2 separate regions of the Homo sapiens genome follow, and region 2 is linked to region 1. Evidence: promoter capture Hi-C in 16 types of primary human blood cells and fetal thymus (Javierre and others, 2016). All regions are on one chromosome and are shown on one strand. The core of a region is centred on a gene start or on the middle of the fragment in contact, and the rest is flanking DNA. Distances in the headings are between cores, read along the strand shown. Region 1 holds the start of MAP6-AS1 (MAP6 antisense RNA 1). Region 2 holds the start of KLHL35 (kelch like family member 35).

The links. The method cuts DNA at HindIII sites, captures the fragments that hold promoters and counts their contacts. A CHiCAGO score of 5 or more calls a contact.
Region 2: a contact is called between the fragment with the promoter of KLHL35 here and the fragment with the promoter of MAP6-AS1 in region 1, in 1 of 17 cell types (endothelial precursors). The highest score is 5.6, in endothelial precursors.

What each region holds. Positions count from the first base shown.
Region 1 is chr11:75,580,826-75,586,277 of GRCh38, forward strand. It overlaps MAP6-AS1 (MAP6 antisense RNA 1), which reads left to right and starts at 2,371. Exons shown (of 2, transcript NR_145823.1): 1 at 2,371-2,456. RefSeq lists silencers at 2,389-2,498, 2,509-2,658 and an enhancer at 3,405-3,984. The HindIII fragment of the contact is 6,298 bases long and covers 1-5,127 here.
Region 2 is chr11:75,430,255-75,435,979 of GRCh38, forward strand. It overlaps KLHL35 (kelch like family member 35), which reads right to left and starts at 2,949. Exons shown (of 7, transcript NM_001039548.3): 1 at 2,789-2,949; 2 at 1-376. The coding sequence starts at 375. GDPD5 (glycerophosphodiester phosphodiesterase domain containing 5) reads right to left here. Exons shown (of 17, transcript NM_030792.8): 17 at 4,386-5,401. The coding sequence ends at 5,253. RefSeq lists a silencer at 59-298 and an enhancer at 1,587-2,473. The HindIII fragment of the contact is 7,064 bases long and covers 1-4,950 here.

The DNA of each region.
Region 1 (5,452 bases), core at 1,121-3,620:
ACTTTGGGAAGCCGAGGCGGGCAGATCGCGAGGTCAAGAGATCGAGACCATCCTGGCCAACATGGTGAAACCCCATCTCTACTAAAAATACAAAAAATTAGCTGGGCATGGTGGCATGCGCCTGTAGTCCCAGCTACTCGGGAGGCTGAGGCAGGAAAATCACTTGAACCTGGGGGGCGGAGGTTGCAGTGAGCCGAGATCACACCACTGCACTCCAGCCTGGCAACAGAGTGAGACTCCATCTCAAAACAACAACAACAACAAAAAAAACTAATTTCGCGCCTATGAAAAAAATTCCAACATACATGACAATTAAATAATAGTACACATAGCTGGGCACGGTGGCTCACGCCTGTAATCCCAGCACTTTGGGAGGCTGAGGCGGGCAGATCCTGAGGTCAGGAGTTCAAGACCAGCCTGACCAACATGGTGAAATCCTGTTTCTGCTAAAAATACAAAAATTAGCTAGGCGTGGTGGTGTGCGCCTGTAGTCCCAGCTACTCGGGAGGCTGAGACAGGAGAATCACTTGAACCTGGGAAGCGGAGGTTGCAGTGAGCGGAGATTTCACTACCACACTCCAGCCTGGCCGACAGAGTGAGACTCCATCTCAAAATAAATAAATAATAGTACCCATCACAAAACTTCAATATGTAACGACATTTTGCCCATTTTGTTCAACAGATTCTAAATCCATATTGCAGGGAAGCCGTTATGGTCTCTAACCCTGTTAACTCTTCATCCTTGATGTCTTCCCCAAGGTGACATTCCTTTCTAGTTTTCTTCTGACTCCTCTGCTGCTTTAGGGCAGCCTCCACTTGGGGGCTCCTTCTTTTGCCTGTCCCCTGAATGTGGGTGTTTCCCAGCGCTCTGACCTGACCCCATCCGTCTCTCGCTTTCCACACTCCTGCTGGGTAAACTCACCCTCTCTCATAGCCTTTTTACCTTCTGTGGGTTGGCGAGGCTCACATTTCAATGAGGTCTGCATCTCCGCCTTCAGCTCAGACCCTTTTCCCAGTCTCAGACCACCATGTCCAGAAGTCTGGACACCAAATTGAGTCCATCCTCCTGCCAAAACAAGCTGTTTCCTGGATTCCCATTAATCCACACAACAATAGAGATCTACTCATATTTATTAGATACCAATTTTTATGTAAGAAAAAAATGTAAGATTCTGGAACAAGCCAAAGAAATTACTGCTACATGAAAAAGATGGACAATAACAAGTGTTGGTAAGGATGTGGAGAAACTGGAACCCTCCTACACTGTGGGTGGGAATGTAAAACAGTGAAGCCCTGGCCCACCCAGAACCAGAATAAACGCCGTAGAGGATTTTTCCCCTTTTCCCCCCACTTCAAGAGATGGGCTCTTGAGCACAGTAGAATGATCAGAGCTCACTGCAGCCTTGAGCTCCTGGGTTCAAGCCTCAGCCTCCGAAATAGCTGGAACTACAGGCATGCACCACCACACCCAGCAGAGGATGTTGAACTGATGGCCCAAGGTGGAGAGGGAGTGAAAGTGCAGGTGCTTTGATGGATGAGGGATGGAGTGGCTTCCCTCCGGGAATGAAGGTGTGCAGAAAGGGCCACGCGCCTGCGGGCTGGGTTGCAGGGCCTCTGAGGGATGGGCTCAGATGTGGAAGCTATAGGAATGCCTGGGCAAACTGGGCAGAAATACCACAACCTGGGCAGGCTTTGGGAGGTCCCCAGCCAAGCCCTAGGGAGAGGGAGAGGGGCTGCCAGCCCCCCGGCTTGGGCTCAGGGAAGCCATAGTGATTCTTCTCAGGATGGCCTGAACCTCCTGGAATTGTGATAAGCCCCAAAGACAGGATGAGGCTCCAGGAAAATGACTAATATCAGATTTCCTGTCAACCGTGGCAACGAGAGAAGGGGGCTCCCAGTCTATTTAATTAGATTTACCAAAATAAAGACGTGGCATTTCTTACACCTGAGTGCCATGCTGTGATGCATAGACTGAATTACAAATTGTGAGATGGGTGAGGTAAGAGGGGGTGGCCATAGAGATAGTGAAAAGTGGGCAAATTTGCTATTTAGCAGGAAGGCCAGGCAGGTCTTACTGATAGTTTGGAAGCTGAGGGTCGGAGACTGGTACTGAAAAGGATTTCCCGGTTTCTGGCTGAGAACTGGGTCAACCCGAGTGCATTCCCACCCACTTCCTCTAGACCATCCATCCACTCAGCGGCACAGACTCCCGAAAGTGTCGCTCCAGTCCGAGTTGGCTCCTGTCCCTTGTCCACATAGACCGTCTCCCCGCTCCCCCAATATGGCACAAGGTGCCTAGGCCGTGTGGGGCGTCGGCAGGTATCACGGGTGGGGTCCATTGTGTGAGGACTAACATCGCGGCCTTTCCCCAGACCAGCCACCGGGGACTCCAGAGAGGCCTCGGCCCAGCTCCCGGAAAGGGTCTCCCAGCCAGGCCTTCTAGCGGCCCAAAGCGGGTAGGCAGAGCGCAGATACCGGGGCCTCTTTCGCCCACCCTCGCCAGGGCACTATCCTTCCCACCGGCCCGATCCCGCGTCCCGAGGTCTCGCGGGGCCAGGCTGCACGGGCGGCGGAGCCCGGAGCCCGGGGCGGGGCCGGAGATGAGCCTGCAGGCGGGGGGCTGTGCGAGTGCGCGGGGACGGGGGCTGCTGTTTCCGAGCCGAGAGCCCTGGTAGCGGGGCTCTGTGGGCGGAGACGCCCTCCCGAGCCTGGGCATCTTCGGAGTGGGACTCTCGGGTCGGAGTTCCGCCGCCGGCCCATCCAGTTTCAGCGGGTCGCCTTTGCCTCTGGGCCGGGTGGGGAGCCTCCCATTCCAGAGACCCCCCGACTCCCTGCCCCTCGCGGCGTAGGGGCGCCCTTTCTGCGGCGCCGCGGGGCCGTCCTCTCCCCTCCCCGGGCGGCTGCAGCAGGGGCGCGGGAGCCCGCGGACTGCGGGGTTGCGGTCGCCCCTGCTTTGTGAGTTCCCGCAGCTGGGAGGAAGAAGGAGAGGAGGGAGGAGGGAGAGGTGGGGAAGGGGACGCCGCGGGAGACTGGGAAGTGGCTGCCGCAGGGAGGAGCTAGGCCTCGAGTGAAGCCTGCTTGTAAGAAGGGCCAGGAGAGTCGGGTGCGCCCCCGCCCTCCCTGCCCCACCCCAAGATGGGGACCCAGAGCCCCTCCTCCCGCACTGGGCCTTCTTTCTGGGTAGTGGAGGGCTGGACTGGACTGAGCTGGGAAGGCCTGCAGCTCAGAGGCGCTGCTCTGTGCGTCAGGACCGGCTTGCAAATGAAGATGTTGAGGGGCTGGCTCTGGGCTCATAGCAGAAACTGCCAGATCTAGCGGCCACCCCTCAGTCCTCATCTGCGCCGGCCCTCCCAGCTTTCGACCCGGCCTCACTGTCTCCTGATTGAATCACTCCGGGCACCACAGTTCCCTGGTTCCTCCTTACAGCTCCGGGCCAGCCCCTCTGAACTTTTTCTGGGCGATTCTCTCTGACCTCTTAAGTCCGCAACGCTTGGAACAGGACCCACATCTCTTTCCATTCTGACACTCTCTGAGGGAGCGCAGCGTCCTTCATGTGGGGCTTGTGACCATCCTCCCCCCAGCCCCAGGGCAGCTGACTACCAGGCCCTGTTTCCAGACGTCTCTTCAGAGGTCAAGCCTTGGTAGCCAGTGGCCTGGACATCTGCCCCCGGGTGTCTCGGAGGCCCTCAGGGAAACCTTGTTCTGCTTCTCAGAGATGGCGCCACGGTTCGCTTGGCCTGTGGAAACGTGTGTGTCATGGGACCTGGTGTGTGGGTCAGAGGAAGGACTGGGAGGAGGAGGAAGGTGTCCACATGCGATTTTTTTTTTTGAGACAGAGTCTCGCTCTATCGCCCGGGCTGGAGTGCAGTGGCTAGATCTCAGCTCACTGCAATCTCTGCCTCCCAGGTTCAAGCGATTCTCGTGCCTTAGCCTCCCAAGTAGCTGGGATTACAGGTGCCTGCCACTACACCCAGCTAATTTTGGTATATTTAGTAGAGACAGGGTTTCACCATGTTGGTCAGGCTGCTCTTGAACTCCTGACCTCAAATAATCCACCCACCTCGGCCTCCCAAAGTCCTGGGATTACAGCCGTGAGCCATCGAGCCCGACCTTCACACGCAATTCTTTAGCCTCAATGTGGCCTTGTCTTATCTTCAGGTTTCTGACTATTGGAGCTCATATGGCAGCAAGCTCTGAGGGCTACTTTTGTGTTGGGCCAAAAAAAGCCAACCTCACTGTGAAGAAACGTCTCTCTCTCTCTTTCTCTGTGTGTGTGTGTGTGTGTGTTTGTGTGTGTATAGACAAAACCCTAGTGCTGTTGGGAACGGGGTGAGGAGGCAGGCTTGGGGCCAGTTGGATGGGGAAGGCTTGCTTAGAAAACTAGACTATTTGGGTGTCCTCCATACTGTATTTCCTCTGATGATTTTCCTGTAAGAACTGAGCTGAGCTCCTTTGAAAGGGATAGCAGTATTCCTTGGGAGCCAGCTTTGGTGGGGGCAACTGGTGGAGCCTCCACCCTAGCTTCTTGGGGGCTCTGGGCTTTGAAAGGGAGGCTGTAATATGGCCTTGCGGCCCCTGCCAGTGGCATCCCGGCCGGACCCATCTTTGACTGAGGCTGAGCCCCAGGCCCGCTGGCAGCTCCCAGCCGTCCTCCCCACAGCCTGGCTGTGGCTGTTCCTCGGCCTGCCAGCCCCACAATCACAGCCCACAGGACGCACCCCCACTCCCTCCCTGATTTCCTGGAATTCAGAAAATGGATCACCCCTGCCTCGTCCTAGTTTTCCACCCCAGAGACCTGCCATACCCTTGGTCAAGTCCTCATGCAAACCAGATTCCTTTCATTCAAGGACTTTCAGAGGGAGCGTTACCCGGTCCTCAGCCACACCCATGCCGCCCTGTCTGCCCTGTCTGGACTGCCTAGACTCCATCAGAACTCCACAGCCACTTTCTCTGGAAAGCCTTCCTGGCTGCTCTTGCCAGGTGTTCTCTCTTCACTGGCCTCTCAAAGCCAGGTCTTGACTTGTCCTAGGGCCTCATCCCATACCATGTTTTATTGTCATAATATTCTTTCCCATAGTGACCCCAGTGCTCAGCACTGAGCCTGGCACAAAGTGCATGCTAAGGACAAGCTTGCTGCACGGAGAAATGAATGGGGACTTCAGATATACATACACACACACACACATATATATATACACGTATATATATATATATATATATATATACGTGTATATATATATATACGTGTATATATATATATACACACACACATACATACATACACATACACACGCTTTTTTTTTTTGAGACCGAGTCTCGCTCTGTCGCCCAGGCTGGAGCCAGGCTAGAGTGCAGTGGCACAATCTCGGCTCATTGCAACCTCTGCCTCCCAGGTTCAAGTGATTCTCCTGCCTCAGCCTCCTGAGTAGCTGGGTTTACAGGTGCCTGCCAC
Region 2 (5,725 bases), core at 1,699-4,198, 150 kb before region 1:
GGCCGCCGCCTCGTCCTCCGCGCGCAGCCGCACGCCCGCTCCGTACACGTAGTCGAGCACCACGGCCAGCGCCGCCGCCGCCCCGGCCGGGCTCGTGCCTGGCGCCTCGGGAGCTACTGGCACCACTGGCACCACGGCCGGGCCGCGCTCGGGCCGCCCGGCCGCGAACAAGCTGCGGAAGTAGGCGCTGCCCGCGCTGAGCGCCGCGCGGTGGCACGGAAAGTCGCGCCCGCCGGCGCGCAGCACCACGTCGGTGAGGGTGCCGCTCCGCCGGTAGGCGTTCAGGGCCTGCAGCACGCGCTGCGCGTGGCACGGACCCGCGCACGGCGCTTCGCAGCCCGGCTCCGACTCCTCCGGCGCATGGCCTTGCCGCATCCTGCCGGGGAGAGAACACAAACAGCGTCGGGGAAGCCACCTGGCTGCGCCCGGGAGAGGCGACAGCCCTCATCCGTTTATTTCCTCTCTTGACCATTTGTTCAGCGACTCTCCCCTCCGTTCAGCATCCAGGTTCCTTACGGCTACAGTGCCCCAGCCCCGCCTCACCAGCGCGACATTCTGCCCTGCCTACCCACTCAGACACAGTGCCCTTTTCGGTTCTTCAAACTTGCTAAGCGTTTTCCTATCGATATCTGCAGGTAACAGATGGCACGCTCTCAAACAGGGTAATCGGAGGAGGGTCTAATAAAGGAACTATTTTCAACAGCGGAGTAGGCGTTAGGGACTCCAGTAGGAGTAGGGCTGTGTCCCAGGATACTAACAGCAGGGCGCCTTGGCCGCCCCGGGGTCTGTAGCGGGAGAGCAGGGAAGTTACTGGAACCTGGAAATATATCTGTGTAAGGAGGGTCCCGTGACAGGAGCTGAAGCCCTGGGTCAAGGGACTCAGGCTGCCCCACAGAGACCCAGTGTGTGCATGTGCAGGGGAGAGAGGGTACAATAACTCCACCGCCCTCTGCTCAATCCAGCCTGTCTCCTGCCGATCTCCGGTAGGTGCTGGACACTGACCACACCCTGAGCACTCCCCTGACAGACAGCATCATACACACAGCTTTCGCGCAAACGAATTCGACAAGTATTTATTGGGAGCCCTTTCTGTGCCAGGCAGTGAGCAAGACAACCATAGTTACGGTGTGCCCGGAGCTCCCAGCCTGGCGGGGGTGCCATGGGGAGGCACCGGGTGTTAGGGGAGTTCATAGAAGGGCCGCTGGACCCAGGTGGAGGGGAGTCAGGGAGGGCGTCCCTGAGGGGAACCTTCCAGCTGAGAAGGATGGGCGAATTCTGAAAGGTTAGAGCCCAGGCTGAGGGAAGCTGGCCCTCTCTCTAGTGAGTTCTCTTGGTGTTCTCCAGGTAGCACCGTCAGAAAGTGGAAAGAACTCTAGGGACAAATGGGGATTCTAACCCAGTGCCTGCCACAGGCTTACGGTGTGGCCGGGGCAAGTCACTCCTCTCACCTGCCCGCCCTGGCCTCAGTTATCTCATCTGAAATGGGATCATCATCCCTACCTCACAGGGCTGTGGCTTCATGACTATTACATGGGCTGTATGAAAAGTGCTAGTACACAGTACGAGCTACATGGGTGTTTCCCTATATTGCTTTTACTCAAGAGGAAGGGAGGACACTGTGTGTGCCAGTTGCTTTTATAGACATAATTTAATTTCATCCTCACAAGCTGAGAAGTTTCTTTAGCCCACACCTGCCCCTTTAGTTTGTCATAAGGGAAACAAGCACACACAGGACACCCGCCCTTCAGAAGTTTGCGGCGAGGCTCAGCAGAGGGGTGTTTGTGAAGGCGCTCTGCAGACTGAGGGGCTGGGCCATGCTGGTTATGATTTGGCCATTATGAACACAAAACCTCTGCTTGCACACCTCCAGGGACAGGGAGCTCCCTCCTTTCCATCAGCTTACTCTAGGGGGCTCAGGTCCACCCTCTGCGCCCTGCCTCTCCTTCCATCCTCCTGCTCCCAGCTGCTCTGCTGCCTCTGGAGGTCAGATCCCGCCTAGTGTCAGCCTGGCTTTCATGCCCTGGTCATCCAGGGCAGCGGATCCCCTGGTCAGCATCATGAGAGATGAGCTCCCTGGTGGGCAAGAAAGTTAACTACTTTTGCCCAAGTAGAGCGACTGGATCCTGAATCCACCTGGCTCCAGGGTTTGCATGCCACACTTGCCAGGGTGGGGGTGTGTCCCAAGGAGCAGCCAGGACCGGTGGAAGGAAGTGAGACCGGTCATCACAGCACGCTGCAACCAGTCTGTCCTCCACTGGCTCAGAAAGCACAACCATGCTCTGAGTTGAGACTCAAGAGGGCAGGTCTCATCAGCATAAGGATGGACTTCTTGCAAAGGTGCCCCACAGCACAAGCAGCTCCCTGGGGGAGAAAGAGTCCCCTCCTAGGAAGTGTGTCAGTACTTTTTCATTTTACTGTCTACTGCGCTGGGCACTCTGGACACACAGTGACATCAGATCCAGCATTCACTCTGGGGATCCCCAGTCTGGGGGTCAAACGACACCCAGTTGGAACACAGAAGGTAAAAATTCCCAGGTAGGGCTCAATGGGTATCCTCCCTTCTCGGCTGAGTCTAGGCACTTCAAGCCAGGGGTCATGATGCAGATTGAAGGGCCCAGCCTATAGAAGCTGACTCGAACATGCCACCATCACTCTTTTACACACCCACATCCACTTGAAGCCATTACCCAAGCACCTCCTCCGCATCCTCCCCATCTCAGACTTGCGGACACCACGCAGCCGGGTCAGCCCTGCAGCCTAAGCCTTGCCCCATGCACCTGGCACTTACCTGGCCATACCCTCTCCCAAGTGCTCCGCAGCTGCTGCTCTCACAGGTATCACTCCCGTTTGTGCCTGCCGCCCGCACCCCTGGCAGCCCAAGCTCCAGTGTTCATGCTGCTCTGCCCAGACTCCCGTTTGCTGTTCGCTCGGGCTCAGCTGCGGGAGGACAAAGGGGCTGGACGCCAGGAGGGAGGGGAAGGGAGGGGAAGGGAGAAGCGAGCAGGGAGGGGGATGCTGGGCTTTTGTTCCACTCTTGGACTAGCCCTGGGAGGGAGGGAAAGAAAGGGGGGGCATAAGAGTGGGATTGACTGTGTGTGGAACTCCAGGATTTGGTATGCCTGGGTTTGGGGGTGACCTGGTGCTGGCCTTGTCCCGGAATGACGATGGGTTCGAAGGTGTGTGGTGCTGGAGTTGGGGTGTGGGAGGGGTGTCATCATGCAGTTGTAGGCATGTAGGTTTCAGGGTGACTATGCGTGATTGTGGAAGTACATGGAATGAAGTGACTGTGTAGCATTGGGCTGCGTGTGGACATGTGGCTGTGTGACCATGTAGATGCCAATGTGACTAAGCATGTGGGGCGGGGGGCACAGTGGCTCTGAGTCTCATTCCCTTGAGCTCAGGGAGAGGCGGGAGCTGACCTCTGCCCCAGGAAGCAGAGCACTTGCCAGACATTCAGTAGCAGGGGCAGGAGGGCCGGTCCTCGAGGTTACTGTGGGGGCCCAGTGGAGCTTCCAACATTTGCAGAGGGCTCTTTTCTTTTTTACCTATAAGGTGCCAGAATCTCCTAGACCCCAAGAATTCTATCCAGAAGATCCCTGTTTGGAAGAGACACGTCCCTTGGCTCCCAGGAAGCATGGAGTTAATTTGATGCAGGCTGGAGCTGGGGCTCAGCTTCCCCCTTTTCCCTCAGGTCACACCCATGACCAGGCAGACTCTCAGGACAAAGAGGGGAGTTACAGGCCTGCTCTGACACCACCACTGACTCCTGCCCACAGACAGCAGAGGTCCCAAGGACTGGAAGGAAAGGACACCTGTGGTCCCAGGGCTGTACTTTGGCTTTCAGCTCAGGTGCCCCCAGTCCTGGGCATGGGCATGGGCCCTCCTCAGGCAGGTCCAAAGCTCGGAGAAGTCAAAGCCAAACTCCTGGCATGGGGAAGAGGCCTCCCTGTGCTGAGGGCTTGTCCCAACATAGCCGGGAGGTTCAGAATGCCTTCATGTGGCTGTGAGGGCACCTGCCAGTCCCACTCCCAGCCCTACATTGGACCCAGGAGCCCTCCCCCTCTGCGTGTCATTCCTAGCTTATGGGAGGCACACATATGCGCTGGGGCCAGAGTCTGGATGGGATTCTGGCTTGGCCTGTTCTAAGCTGTGTGGCTTTTGGAGGTCACTTTACCTCTCCAAGACTGTCTCCCCATCCACCATATGAGGATACCGGCTCCCAGCCACTGGCACCATGGCGGACCCAGGGAAGGGGAGGCACCATTCTGCCACTTTCCCATTCATTCCTGAGAATGGTTCCTCCTCAGATTATAGGGTCAGAACTGAAACCTAGACCCAGCGCACTTGTCCCCACCCTCCTGCTGGCAATTCAGAGACAACACACATCAAGATGGCAGCTTTAATCACATTGGCCAAGGGCCCTAGGTTCCCTCTGTTCAGGCCCACTTAGCCACACACCCACCCTGGCCATATCCAGAACACTTCTACCAGGTGGGCCCTGCCCTGTGGCCACTGATGTGGGAACCTGAGGTCACATCAGTCTGTGGACTCCTGGGTTAGGTGACCCTTCTGCCTTGAGGTCTGCTGGACACCTGGGCATGGGATCCAGTAGTCCTGAGCTCACTCTTTTGGCCATCTCCAGCTGCTCCTAGAGGACGTGGCTCAGGCCCGCTCCTGGGGCAGGGGGTTGGCGGTGGCATGAGGTGGGTTGGGGAGGAGGACGTGTCTCCACATTGCAGCTGGCTTCCTCCTGGGCTGAACCTCCTTGTGCTTTGAGACTGACAGGAAGAGCAGAGTTGCTTCAGGTAGAGGCTCGGCCCAGGCCCTTGGGGCAGGATAACAGCAGAGAACTCAGGTGCCTCCTGGCACAGACAGGAGGACAGATGGCACAGGTGAGCATCCACACACTCCATTGCCACAGGGGGTATGGCATGGCCCATGACCCATCAAAGCTTCCAGGTCGGGATACAGGAGAGGGCCTCAGAAGAGGGGGACCAAGCCCTAGGCCCCATACTTCCCAGAAGGAGCCCCAGGCCTGCAGGGGCATCTGAAAGGATGGAGTCCTGGCCCAGCTGGGCCTCAGGAGACAGGGAGTCCCCCTCAAGAGAGGCTGCGGCTGACAAGGGGCTGGAGCCCACAAGGAGGCTGTGGAGCCCGCTCCCAGAGCACTCCGAGTTCAGACACACTTCCACCAGCTCTCCTAGGCTCCCCAGCTTCTGTGTCAGGTACAGGTGGGACAGACATGTCTTCAGCTAACGCCCACTCCGCTCTATGAGGGTCTTGGTGTGGCTGCCACCCCCTCGGGGGCCCACAGGGGTGGCGGTGCTGTTGGCATATGTGTCATAACTGTTGTCTGAACATACGGAGAGCACATCGGAGACCTCTACACCATCGCTGATCTCTGCTGGGCCAGAGGGAGACAGAATGTGAGTCGGGGAGGAGGCAGTCGTGAGGATGGGTGACAGATGGGGCAGGAAGGCTGCACCACCCAGCGGGGCACTTGGAGGCTGATGAAACCACTGGGCTCAGGTCGACATTGAGCCTGGCACTCAAGGCCCCTTTGGTGTCTGCTGAGCACTCTAGCTTCGCCTTCATCTGCTGTCCCCTGGGACTCTGCAGCCACAGAAAACCACCTGTGCCCCTGAGCTTGGCACCCATGTGTCCACTCTCCTCAGGGCCTTTGCATGTGTCAGCCCCTCTCTTAGGAGTGACTGCCCCAACAACA